Regions from separate parts of the Homo sapiens genome. Here region 1 is linked to region 2. The links are contacts of gene promoters, found by promoter capture Hi-C in blood cells and fetal thymus (Javierre and others, 2016). All regions are on one chromosome and are shown on one strand. The core of a region is centred on a gene start or on the middle of the fragment in contact, and the rest is flanking DNA. Distances in the headings are between cores, read along the strand shown. Region 1 overlaps DUS2 (dihydrouridine synthase 2). Region 2 holds the start of LCAT (lecithin-cholesterol acyltransferase).

Region 1 (5,592 bases), core at 600-3,099, 85 kb before region 2:
TAAGCAGAAGAATCATTGGGAGTCCAAGAGTTCGATGCAGCAGTGAGCCATGATTGTGCAACTGTACTCCAGCCTGGGTGACAGAGCAAGGCCCTGTCTCCAAAAAAAAGAAAAAGAAAACCAAAATGTCTACTGATAAACTTTTGTCATAGAAATATATATACATATGCAAAACATGCAAGCCATGCAAAGCAGGTAATTCAAGAAAGACATGAAGGGATTTCTAGTGGGTTTTTATTTATTTATTTATTTATTTTTTGAGATGGAGTCTCACTCTGTCACCCAGGCTAGAGTACAGTGGCATGATCTTGGCTCACTGCAATCTCCACCTCCGAGGTTCGAGCAATTCTCCTGCCTCAGCCTCCTGATTAGCTGGGACAAAAATTAACCACCATGCCCGGCCAATTTTTGTGTTTTCAGTAGAGACGGGGTTTCACCATGTTGGCCAGACTCGTCTTGAACTCCTGACCTCAAGTGATCCACCCGCCTCAGCCTCCCAAAGTGCTGGGATTGCAGATGTGAGTCACCACTCCTGGCCTCCGGTGGGGTTTTTAGAAAATCCTTGGAAACAGTTCTTATCTCAGACATGTAAGCATGAGCTTCCTCTACTTCACACCTTCCTTGTCCTATTTTGACAAAAGCGGTTTCATCCTGGTATCTGCAACTTTCATAATCCCATTAATTATAGTGCTTTCAGATTGAACATAACACTATTCAGGAAAAATAATGAGTATAAACAAACTTTACCATTCCCTTCCCTGTCAATTTTCCCCAAAGACAAAGCTTGCTTAAAAAGCAATTTCTGGCCAGGCATGGTGGCTCACACCTGTAATCCCAGCACTTTGGGAGGCTGAGGCGGGAGGATCGTTTGAGGCCAGGAGTTCAAGACCAGCCCAGGCAACATAATAAGACACCACCTCTACAAAAAATTAGCGGGGCATGGTGGTACACACCTGTGGTCCTAGGTACTCCACCTGCCTCAGCCTCCCAAAGTGTTGGGATTACAGGCGTGAGCCACTGCATCCAGCTCTAAAATTCAAATTTGGAAAGTCAACTAGAATCAAGTATTTACAGAATTATCTTATTTCCTAATCTGAACATGTGGCTGGGTCCAGTGGCTCATGCCTATAATCCCAACACTTTGGGAGGCCAAGGTGGGCAGATTACCTGAGCTCAGTAGTTCAAGACCAGCCTGGGCAACATGGCAAACCCCATCTATACCAAAAAATACAAAAATTAGCCGGGTATGGTGGTGCAGGCCTGTTATCCCACCTACTTGGGGGGCTGAGGCAGGAGAATCACTTGAACTTGTGAGGTGGAGGCTGCAGTGAGCCAAGATCGTATCACTGCACTCCAGCCTGGAAATTGGAGCAAGACTCTGCCTCAAAAAAATAAAAAAAGTGTAAATACACCAGGTGTGGTAGCTCACACCTGTAATCCTAACACTGGGAGGTTGAGGCAAGAGGATCATTTGAGCCCAAGAGTTCAAGACCAGTCAGGGCAACATAGTAAGACCCCATCTCTATTAAAAATAAAAATTAAAAACAAAAATTAAAAACAGAAAACAAAATACATGCACATGACAAAAAGTAAAAATGATTTGTTAGATTTGAGGAGAAAGAGGTGATATAGCTTTTTTTTTTTAGAGATGGGACCTTGCTGTGTTGCCCAGGCTGGAGTGCAGCGGCACAATCATGGCTCACTGCAGTCCCAAACTCCTGGGCTCTAGTGATCCTCCCATCTCAGCATCCGGAGTAACTGGGACTACAGGCATGTTCCACCACATCTAGCTAATTTTGTGTTTAAATTTTTCTGTAGCGATACAGTCTTGCTATGTTGCTCAGGCTAGTCTCCAACTCCTGGCCTCTAGCGATCCTCCTGCCTAACCTTCTGAAGTGCTGGAATCAGGCGTGACCCACTGTGCCCAGCCCTGATACAGCATTTCATAGTTAAGATCCTGAGCTCTGGAATTGGACAGACCTTCACTTGAATCCCAGCTGTGCCTCGGGCACATTAATTAACCCAGCTGAGCCTCAGCTTCTCCTTGTGGAATATGAGGCTCCACTATGGGAGTCAAAGGAAATGCTGTGAAGAGTGAATTCCATGGTGTACCACAGTTCTCAGCACATAGTAAAGGCTTAATAAATGTTAGCCACTCTCATCATGCTTTCACGGTTTCAACACTCTATTTTTTGTTTGTTTGTTTGTTTTGAGACGGAGTCTCCTACTGTCTCCCAGGATGGAGTGCAGTGGCGTGATCTCAGCTCACTGCAACCTCCGCCTCCCGGGTTCAAGCAATTCTCTTGCCTCAGCCTCTCGAGTAGCTGGGATTACAGGTGCCCACCACCACGCCCAGCTAATTTTTTGTATTTTTTTTTAGTAGGGATGGGGTTTCACCATGTTGGCCAGACTGGTCTCAAACTCCTGACTTCGTGATTCACCCGCCTTGGCCTCCCAAAGTGCTGGGATTACAGGTGTGAGCCACCGCGCCTGGCCTCTAACGTCTATTATTATGTTGTTATATCGACAAACATCTGCTAGCTCTTTTAAGATCAAGGCAGCGTGTGAGGTATAAAGACACGGAAAGCACTAAGCTCTTAACCTCAAAGAGCTTCTCAGCTCTACAACTGCCATCATCTATCAACTGAACCATGACAACAGTCTCCAAACCAGTCTCTCTGCCTCCAGGCTTATCACTTCCAATCCATGCTCCTTCCAGCCAAAGGGCTCTTTCCAAACGCAAAGATATGATACGCAAAACATGATAGTTCCATTTCTGGACGCCTTCCCTACTGCCTGTAAAATTAAGTCTACACTCTTTAACACAGTAAATATAAGGTCTGGTCTCCACCTTCCATAGAAGCCTCTTTCATCACCTGCCTCCTGCCCTCAGAACTCCCCCATGCTAAGCTTCAGCTATTCTTAAATATTTCTAGTTCCCCAGCCTGGCCTGCTCTCTCTCAGTATGGGATCTCTGAACAAGCTGTCCCTGCCCAGGGGCCACGTCCCTATTCTTCCACCTGGCTGACTCCCTGTAGACTTTTAGAACCTCATCACCTCCTCCTGGAAGCCTTCTCTGACCAACATCTCCCAAAACAGGGTAAAGGCATCTCTGAGCTCATTCCTGTCCTGGCATGGAGCTATCCTGGCAACTATTAATAGAAGAGCAACTATCTGTCAATATGCCTTCTTCACTGTAAGGTGAAAATAGGCACTGTGGCTTGTTCATCACCAGATCCTCATCAGAGAGCATACAATCTGGCATATGGTAGATGCTTAGTGTTTGCTGTAAAAAGAAGTTAATGGCAGCCGGGTGAGGTGGCTCACGCCTGTAATCCCAGCACTTTGGGAGGCCAAGGCAGGCGGATTACCTAAAGTCGGGAGTTTGAGACCAGACCAGCCTGACCAACATGGAGAAACCACGTCTCTACTAAAAATACAAAATTAGCCGGGTGTGGTGGCGCATGCCTGTAATCCCAGCTACTTGGGAGGCTGAGGCAAGAGAATCACTTGAACCCGGGAGGCGGAGGTCACAGTAAGCTGAGATCATGCCACTGCACTCTAGCCTGGGCAACAAGAGCAAAACTCCATCTCCAAAAAAAAAAAAAAACAAGAAGTTAATGGACCAAGTGCAACAAGAGCTATGATCCACTCCATGCTTCAGTCACAGAAGAACTCTATCCCAGCCAAAGTGCATTTAAAGTGCTTTGTTATCACTCAAGTTTGGTTTTAGAGGAGACGAATGACTACTCCAATCTCTGGCTTACCCAGTAAAGGACTACAAGCCCTTTGGCCAACTTGCATGGAGCCATCACTTGAGTGAACAAGATTCACATAAGAAAGCAACAGAAGAGGTTGAGCCCAATTCTGGATACTGATTAGGAAATAATCTGCAGGCAACAAGGATTCATGAATGGCTTTTGAGTCAAAGGGTAACATGGCCATAGCTGTGCTTTTTTTTTTTTTTTTTTTTTCAGATAGACTCTTGCTCTATCACCCAGTCTGGAATGCAATGGCACAATCTCAGGTCACTGCAACCTCCGCCTCCCGGGTTCAAGCAATTCTTCCACTTCAGCCTCCCGAGTAGCTGGGATTACAGGTGCCTGCCACCATGCTCAGCTAATTTTTGTATTTTTGTAAAGAAAGGGTTTCACCACGTTTGCCAGACTGGTCTTGAACTCCTGACCTCGTGATCTGCCCGCCTTGGCCTCTCAAAGTGCTGGGATTACAGGCGTGAGCCACCACACCAGGCCTAGCTGTGCTTTAATAACATCACTCGGGAAACAGAAGGTAGACCAGAGGGTAAAAAACAAAGAGCAGGTAGGGAGCTGGATGAGAAGGAAGGTCAAAGGGTCCAGGAATACTATAGTGATAATGACTGAAAATATGATTACCTGCGCACAGCCCTGCTACAGGTGGGAAAATGGAGGAACAATAAAGTAATACCAATAGCACTTTTTATTGCTGTAATGCTTTGCAATTCCCAAAGTGCTTCATTTATAACTGTGATTCTCAAGCCTAGTTACATCTGGAGAGGTTTCTAAAAATACCAATTTCTCGGCTGGGCACAATGGCTCACATCTGTAATCCCAGCACTTCGGGAGGCCAAGGCAGGCAGATCAACTGAGGTCAGGAGTTCGAGATCAGCCTGGTCAAAATGGCAAAACCTCATCTCTACTAAAAATACAGAAATTAGCCGGGTTTGGTAGCACGTGCCTGTAATCCCACCTACTGGGGTGGCTGAGGCAGAAGAATCACTTGAACCTGGGAGGCAGAGGTTACAGTGAGTCGAGATGGCACCACTGAAGTCTAGCCTGGGTGACAGAGCAAGACCTTGTCTAGGCCTTAACCCAAATCAATTAAATCAGAATGTAAACTCCACAAGGGCAGGGATTTTGGCTGTTTTCCTCACTACCAATGCCTGGCACATGCGTGGTGCTCAGGAAGTATTTGTTGAATGAATGATTGAATGAATGAATGAATATACCATTATTAACTGAGATCCAAGGAACACACCAAGCTCCTGATCTCAGGAGCTTAGATTTTTTTTCACAATAAGGATACCTTTCCTATTTCTAAAGCACTACTTATAAAAATATCTCAGAAAACATTTAGAAGTTAATCAATGTCCTCTGTGAGTGAGGGGGAAAAAAGGTAGGCAGTGTCTAGTGATGTGACAAGAAGAAATTAGTGGCCACGGACACAGACAGGCTTAGGCAAGCTCTAACTCCTGTGAAATTTTGAGGTAATCATATTGTAAGGACTCAAGCATAATGAGAAAACAACTATATATTAACCAGCTACCCTACCCTGGATATTTGAACAAAACCCAAAAACCCAAATGCATATACATACCTATTATTTTGTTCTGATACTTCAGGATTACTTTGATATATGTGTTCTGGCTTTGTACAGAGTAATTCTTTGTTTGATATCTGAAAAACAGTGGCACATGGAAATGGATGAAACCTGTTGGGACAAACATCCAAGGGACCTTTTTTTTTTTTTTTTGAGACAGAGTCTCGCCCTGTCGCCCAGGCTGGAGTGCAATGGTGCGATCTCGGCTCACTGCAACAACCTCCGCCTCCCGGG
Region 2 (5,578 bases), core at 3,079-5,578:
TTCCTGCTGCCCCTGCACCACCCTCTTCAGCTCTGCCCTGTTACTCCCCTTCCTACCTCCTCCAACAGCAAACCCTTGCCCATCCTCTGCGATCTGGCTCCGAGGACTCCTCCACAGTAGTCTCATTGCCTCAGGCCATGGAGGTGGCAGCAATGAGGTTGAGAAGACCTTGCTGAGCCATGCAGGGCAGGGCCGGGCCACGCCCCGTTTCTGGGCCAGGCCCAGCCTGACATCAGGTCCCCAGCTGCCGAGGAGGCTGCTCTTCGCCAACCGCCCTCTGTGCCGCAGGTTCTTTCTGATGTGCTACCTGTTCGTGAACCTCGCCTGTGCGGTGCAGACACTCCTGAGGACCCCCAACTGGCGGCCCCGGTTCAAGTACTATCACTGGTGAGCCATGCCTCTGACACGGGAGACCCTGGGGAGGCCAGGAGCCTCATTCTGGGTGAGGCTTGGGTTTCCTGGGTAGGGAGCTCTTGAAACACTGTGGGGAGGGAGATTATAGGGCTGCGGGGGACTGGACCTAGGTCTTACACCCAGTGACCTGACCACCCACCTGGGACCTCCCACCCGGGACCTGACAGGGCTACCAGGGCATGGGCCAGGCTGTGGCCAGGGGTCCTCCTGGTCCTGCCCTGACTCTGCCCTCCCCTCTCGTCCAGGGCGCTGTCCTTCCTGGGCATGAGTCTCTGCCTGGCCCTTATGTTTGTCTCCTCCTGGTACTATGCCCTGGTGGCCATGCTCATCGCCGGCATGATCTACAAATACATCGAGTACCAAGGGTGAGTGAGCACTGCCACCTGGCCTCTGCCAGCTGAGGGGGCCCGGCCGAGCAGGCAGGGTGGTCTGGCATTGGGGTGGGCAGGGAGCTGGGCCACCGTGGGTGCCAGGACTGGGGACTGTAACTCAGGACCCCTGGGTGGTCTTGAGGGGCAGAACCCCTCCACCTCGCATCCACATAGACAGAACCCCCTGGGCGGCACCAGGGGCTCACCAGCTGTGGTGGAATCTGCAGGGCTGAGAAGGAGTGGGGTGACGGGATCCGAGGCCTGTCCCTGAGCGCTGCCCGCTACGCGCTGTTGCGGCTGGAGGAGGGGCCTCCTCACACCAAGAACTGGCGGTGAGTTCCCGCCAGACCCTGGCCAGGGCGCAGAGGTTCTTAGGGGTCGCTGTCGGGGTCAGAGGGTCGAGAGGTGCCGGCTCCCCATCCTGGGGCTGCCCGGGGCACCCTCCTGGGCCATGCTACCCAAACCTGCAGGGACCACGACCCGAGAAGGGAAGAAGAGGAGGGGCTCCCTAGAACGGCCGGCCCTGGTCTCAGGCTCCCCCCACCCGGCCACTGCAGGCCGCAGCTGCTGGTGCTGCTGAAGCTGGACGAGGACCTCCACGTGAAGTACCCGCGGCTCCTCACCTTCGCCTCCCAGCTCAAGGCTGGCAAGGGCCTGACCATTGTTGGTTCTGTCATCCAGGGGAGCTTCTTGGAGAGCTATGGCGAGGCTCAGGCCGCCGAGCAGGTACTTGCTTTGGGGAGGGAGAGCTGAGCCAGACTACAGGGGTCTGGACTGCAGCTGGCACGGAGGGGAGGGCCCAGTCTTGGCCAGGGTGGCCAGCCAGGCAGCCAGCACTGCTGCCACCTGAGAGCTGGCACAAGGGGGAGCCAGCAGTCCCATCTTGAAAACTTGGCCTCTGGGTAGGCAGCTTGTTGCCCCCAGGCCCTCCTCCACCCAAAAGTCGTTTTGTTCCCGAGGGGCCTTGGGAGGGAGCCCAGAGGCAGGAAGCTGATGGCCTCCCATTGGCCCTGGGTGTGTTCCCCACAGACCATCAAGAACATGATGGAAATTGAGAAGGTGAAGGGCTTCTGCCAGGTGGTGGTGGCCAGCAAGGTGCGGGAGGGGCTGGCCCACCTCATCCAGTCCTGTGGCCTGGGAGGCATGCGGCATAACTCCGTGGTGCTGGGCTGGCCCTACGGCTGGCGACAGAGCGAGGACCCCCGTGCCTGGAAGACCTTCATTGGTGTGTGAAGGCCTGGGGCCTGGTGGGCAGGGGTGAAGTGAGGTGGCAGTGGGCGGAGGGCCACAGACTGGTGGTCAGCCGTGCTCCTCCTCCCCAGACACCGTGCGCTGCACTACGGCTGCCCACCTGGCCCTGCTCGTGCCCAAGAACATCGCCTTCTACCCCAGCAACCACGAGCGCTACCTGGAGGGCCACATAGACGTGTGGTGGATCGTGCACGATGGTGGCATGCTCATGCTTCTGCCCTTCCTGCTGCGCCAGCATAAGGTAGACCAGGGGGTGGGTGCAGATGAGAGGGGCTAGGCCCTTGGAGGAGCAGCTGTGACCAAACCGCCCACCTGGTCCCTTGCCTCAGGTCTGGAGGAAGTGCCGGATGCGCATCTTCACAGTGGCCCAGATGGATGACAACAGCATCCAGATGAAGAAGGACCTGGCTGTCTTTCTGTACCATCTGCGCCTTGAGGCCGAGGTGGAGGTGGTGGAGATGGTGAGCCCTCTGCCCTGCCCTGGCCCCGTGGATACCATGTCCCGTGCAGCTGGGTCCTCACGGCCAACCCTGTCCCCAGCATAACAGTGACATCTCTGCATACACCTACGAGCGGACGCTGATGATGGAGCAGCGGTCGCAGATGCTGCGGCAGATGAGACTGACCAAGACTGAGCGGGAGCGAGAAGTCAGTGCCCTTTGTGGTTCACGCCAGGGCGGGTGGCAGGGTCAGGCCTTTGGAGACCGCATCGGTGGGTGCGGAGGAATCAGAATGACTCACCGCAGCCCTACCCAAGCTAGTGCTCATTTCCCGGAGGCAAGGTGGTCACATTGGGCCAGACAGGCCCCATCCCCCTTTTCCTATGGGACCAAGGCTATCTCCTGCAATTGTCCTCAGGCCCAGCTGGTCAAGGATCGGCACTCGGCCCTGCGGCTGGAGAGCCTGTACTCGGACGAGGAAGATGAGTCTGCAGTGGGGGCTGACAAGATCCAGATGACGTGGACCAGGGACAAGTACATGACTGAGACCTGGGACCCCAGCCATGCCCCTGACAATTTCCGGGAGCTGGTGCACATTAAGCCGTGAGTGCAGCAAAAACAGCCCCAGCGGCACTGGAATCTAGGGGTGGAGGTGGGGTGGGGCAGACAAGTAGTGTTAGATGGGCCAGGGGTGGGGACCCTCCTTGCAGGATGGCTCATGGCGACCTGTGACTGGCTACACTACGTGTAGGGACCAATCCAATGTGCGGCGCATGCACACTGCTGTGAAGCTCAATGAAGTCATTGTCACGCGCTCCCACGACGCCCGCCTGGTTCTCCTAAACATGCCTGGCCCACCCAGGAACAGTGAGGGCGACGAGAACTGTATCCCTTTGTGGAGAGGCAGGCAGTTGGGAGGTGGATAGCATGGGAGGTCAAGCCAGCGGCTTCTCTCCTGGGCACCCCTGGGTGGGCATGGCCCAGGTGGCCCGGGTTGCCCGTTGATTCTGTTGTTGCCTCCTTGACTTGAGGCCCTGCAGACATGGAGTTCCTCGAGGTGCTGACCGAGGGCCTTGAGCGGGTGCTGTTGGTGCGCGGTGGTGGCCGTGAAGTCATCACCATCTACTCCTGAGCCCAGTGTCATCTTGTGGCCTGGAGTCGAGGTCTTGGCCAGGACATAACAAGCTGTGGTCTGGGGTAACAGCCTCTTCCCAGCACCCACCTGCCAGCCCTGCTTGCCTGGCCCTGTCCTGGACCCAGCTTTGCTAGGTCTCCTTGGAAACCAGGCCTGGGCCTCAAAATGGAGATGGATCCCAGGTCTTGTGGGACCCTGGGATGTTTGGGGACTTTACTATCTAGCACCCCAGTAGGCCTGTCCTGGCCAGAGAAGACTGGTAGGGGCCGAGTGGGGTTTGAAGGCAGCCGGCCCGGCCCAGCCCAGGAGCGCTATTTATTGCATATTTATTGTTTGGATGTCACCATCAGAGACGAAGGGAAGGGTAGCCAGGGAGGGAGTCCAGCCCAGCTGCCTGCAGGAAGATCTGGCTCAGTCTACTATGGGCAGGGCCCCCCACCAAGCTGAGCCGAATGGAGACAGCTGAGCTGAGGCCTGACTTTTTCAATAAAACATTGTGTAGTTCTGGGCCTCCTGCTGCCCCGGCTCTGTTTCCCCTGGCGCCAAGAGAAGAAGGCGGAACTGAACCCAGGCCCAGAGCCGGCTCCCTGAGGCTGTGCCCCTTTCCGGCAATCTCTGGCCACAACCCCCACTGGCCAGGCCGTCCCTCCCACTGGCCCTAGGGCCCCTCCCACTCCCACACCAGATAAGGACAGCCCAGTGCCGCTTTCTCTGGCAGTAGGCACCAGGGCTGGAATGGGGCCGCCCGGCTCCCCATGGCAGTGGGTGACGCTGCTGCTGGGGCTGCTGCTCCCTCCTGCCGCCCCCTTCTGGCTCCTCAATGTGCTCTTCCCCCCGCACACCACGCCCAAGGCTGAGCTCAGTAACCACACACGGCCCGTCATCCTCGGTAAGCCCCCACCAGGCCCCTGATGCACCACGCCAGACCCTGGGGAGCCTGGGCCCCAGCCCCTGGCAGCTGACCTGGCCAAAGCCCTTCTGCCCTGCATAAGCCCCGACATAAGTACCTGCCCTGGTGTGGGGAGGGGCCAAAAGCTTGTCCCTTAGAGGAATGACGTCCCTTCTCCCACCACACTGTGACTCTCAGTTGTCTAACCCAGGGGGGGCGGAGTGGGGGACGGGGTGTGCCTGAGGTCTTGGCTGGGGCATCACAAGCTGTGGTCAGTCACAGCCACACCAGACTCTGGGCCAAGCCCCACCACTCCTTCCTTGGCCCCCACCCACCAAGGACAAGATGCCCAGCCCAGGATCGGTGAGCAGGAGAGGCCCATCCATGCCCGGCCCCTATTAGGCCCAGCCCCCATGCCCCCAGACCTATCTGTTCCCACCTTGGACTTTGGCAATAAAGGAGCGCCAGACTGGGTGTTTGCTCTGCAGAGGCAGGGGTCAGCGGCCTTGGCCTCAGCACCTCAGCGCCTTCCCTTCCTCAGGGAAGCCTGGGCTTTGGCTACTGGGGGGACAGCAGGGAGAGGGGGTGTAAGCAGGGGAGGGTAAGTGTGCTTTGTACCTGGGGGTTGAGGGTATGGGAGGTGGGGGGTGGGTCTGGTCACTGCAGCATCTGGGGTGACGGGGGTAAGGGTCACGGGGGGAATCCAGAGTCCAGAGTGAGGGCTGCTGCTCACAGTGCCCGGCTGCCTGGGGAATCAGCTAGAAGCCAAGCTGGACAAACCAGATGTGGTGAACTGGATGTGCTACCGCAAGACAGAGGACTTCTTCACCATCTGGCTGGATCTCAACATGTTCCTACCCCTTGGGGTAGACTGCTGGATCGATAACACCAGGTACAGCCATGTGCTCCACCCTAGCCCCAACACGCTGCCCCTTGGCTACTGGCTGCTGAGTGGCACCCCCGCCCCGCAGGGTTGTCTACAACCGGAGCTCTGGGCTCGTGTCCAACGCCCCTGGTGTCCAGATCCGCGTCCCTGGCTTTGGCAAGACCTACTCTGTGGAGTACCTGGACAGCAGCA

What was found. The method cuts DNA at HindIII sites, captures the fragments that hold promoters and counts their contacts. A CHiCAGO score of 5 or more calls a contact.
Region 1: a fragment that was not itself captured here is called in contact with the fragment with the promoter of LCAT in region 2 in 1 of 17 cell types (non-activated CD4 T cells); the score reaches 5.3 in non-activated CD4 T cells.

What each region holds. Positions count from the first base shown.
Region 1 is chr16:68,025,258-68,030,849 of GRCh38, reverse strand. DUS2 (dihydrouridine synthase 2) reads right to left here. Exons shown (of 17, transcript NM_017803.5): 2 at 5,356-5,435. Among named protein-coding and RNA genes, the nearest start is that of DUS2, 4.8 kb to the right of the region's middle. The HindIII fragment of the contact is 2,127 bases long and covers 786-2,912 here.
Region 2 is chr16:67,942,870-67,948,447 of GRCh38, reverse strand. It overlaps LCAT (lecithin-cholesterol acyltransferase), which reads left to right and starts at 4,328. Exons shown (of 6, transcript NM_000229.2): 1 at 4,328-4,500; 2 at 5,236-5,392; 3 at 5,472-5,578. The coding sequence starts at 4,347. SLC12A4 (solute carrier family 12 member 4) reads left to right here. Exons shown (of 24, transcript NM_005072.5): 14 at 289-387; 15 at 660-779; 16 at 1,013-1,117; 17 at 1,343-1,511; 18 at 1,815-2,010; 19 at 2,108-2,277; 20 at 2,366-2,497; 21 at 2,577-2,684; 22 at 2,895-3,079; 23 at 3,228-3,361; 24 at 3,517-4,974. The coding sequence ends at 3,608. RefSeq lists an enhancer at 5,197-5,578. The HindIII fragment of the contact is 31,685 bases long and covers 1-4,648 here.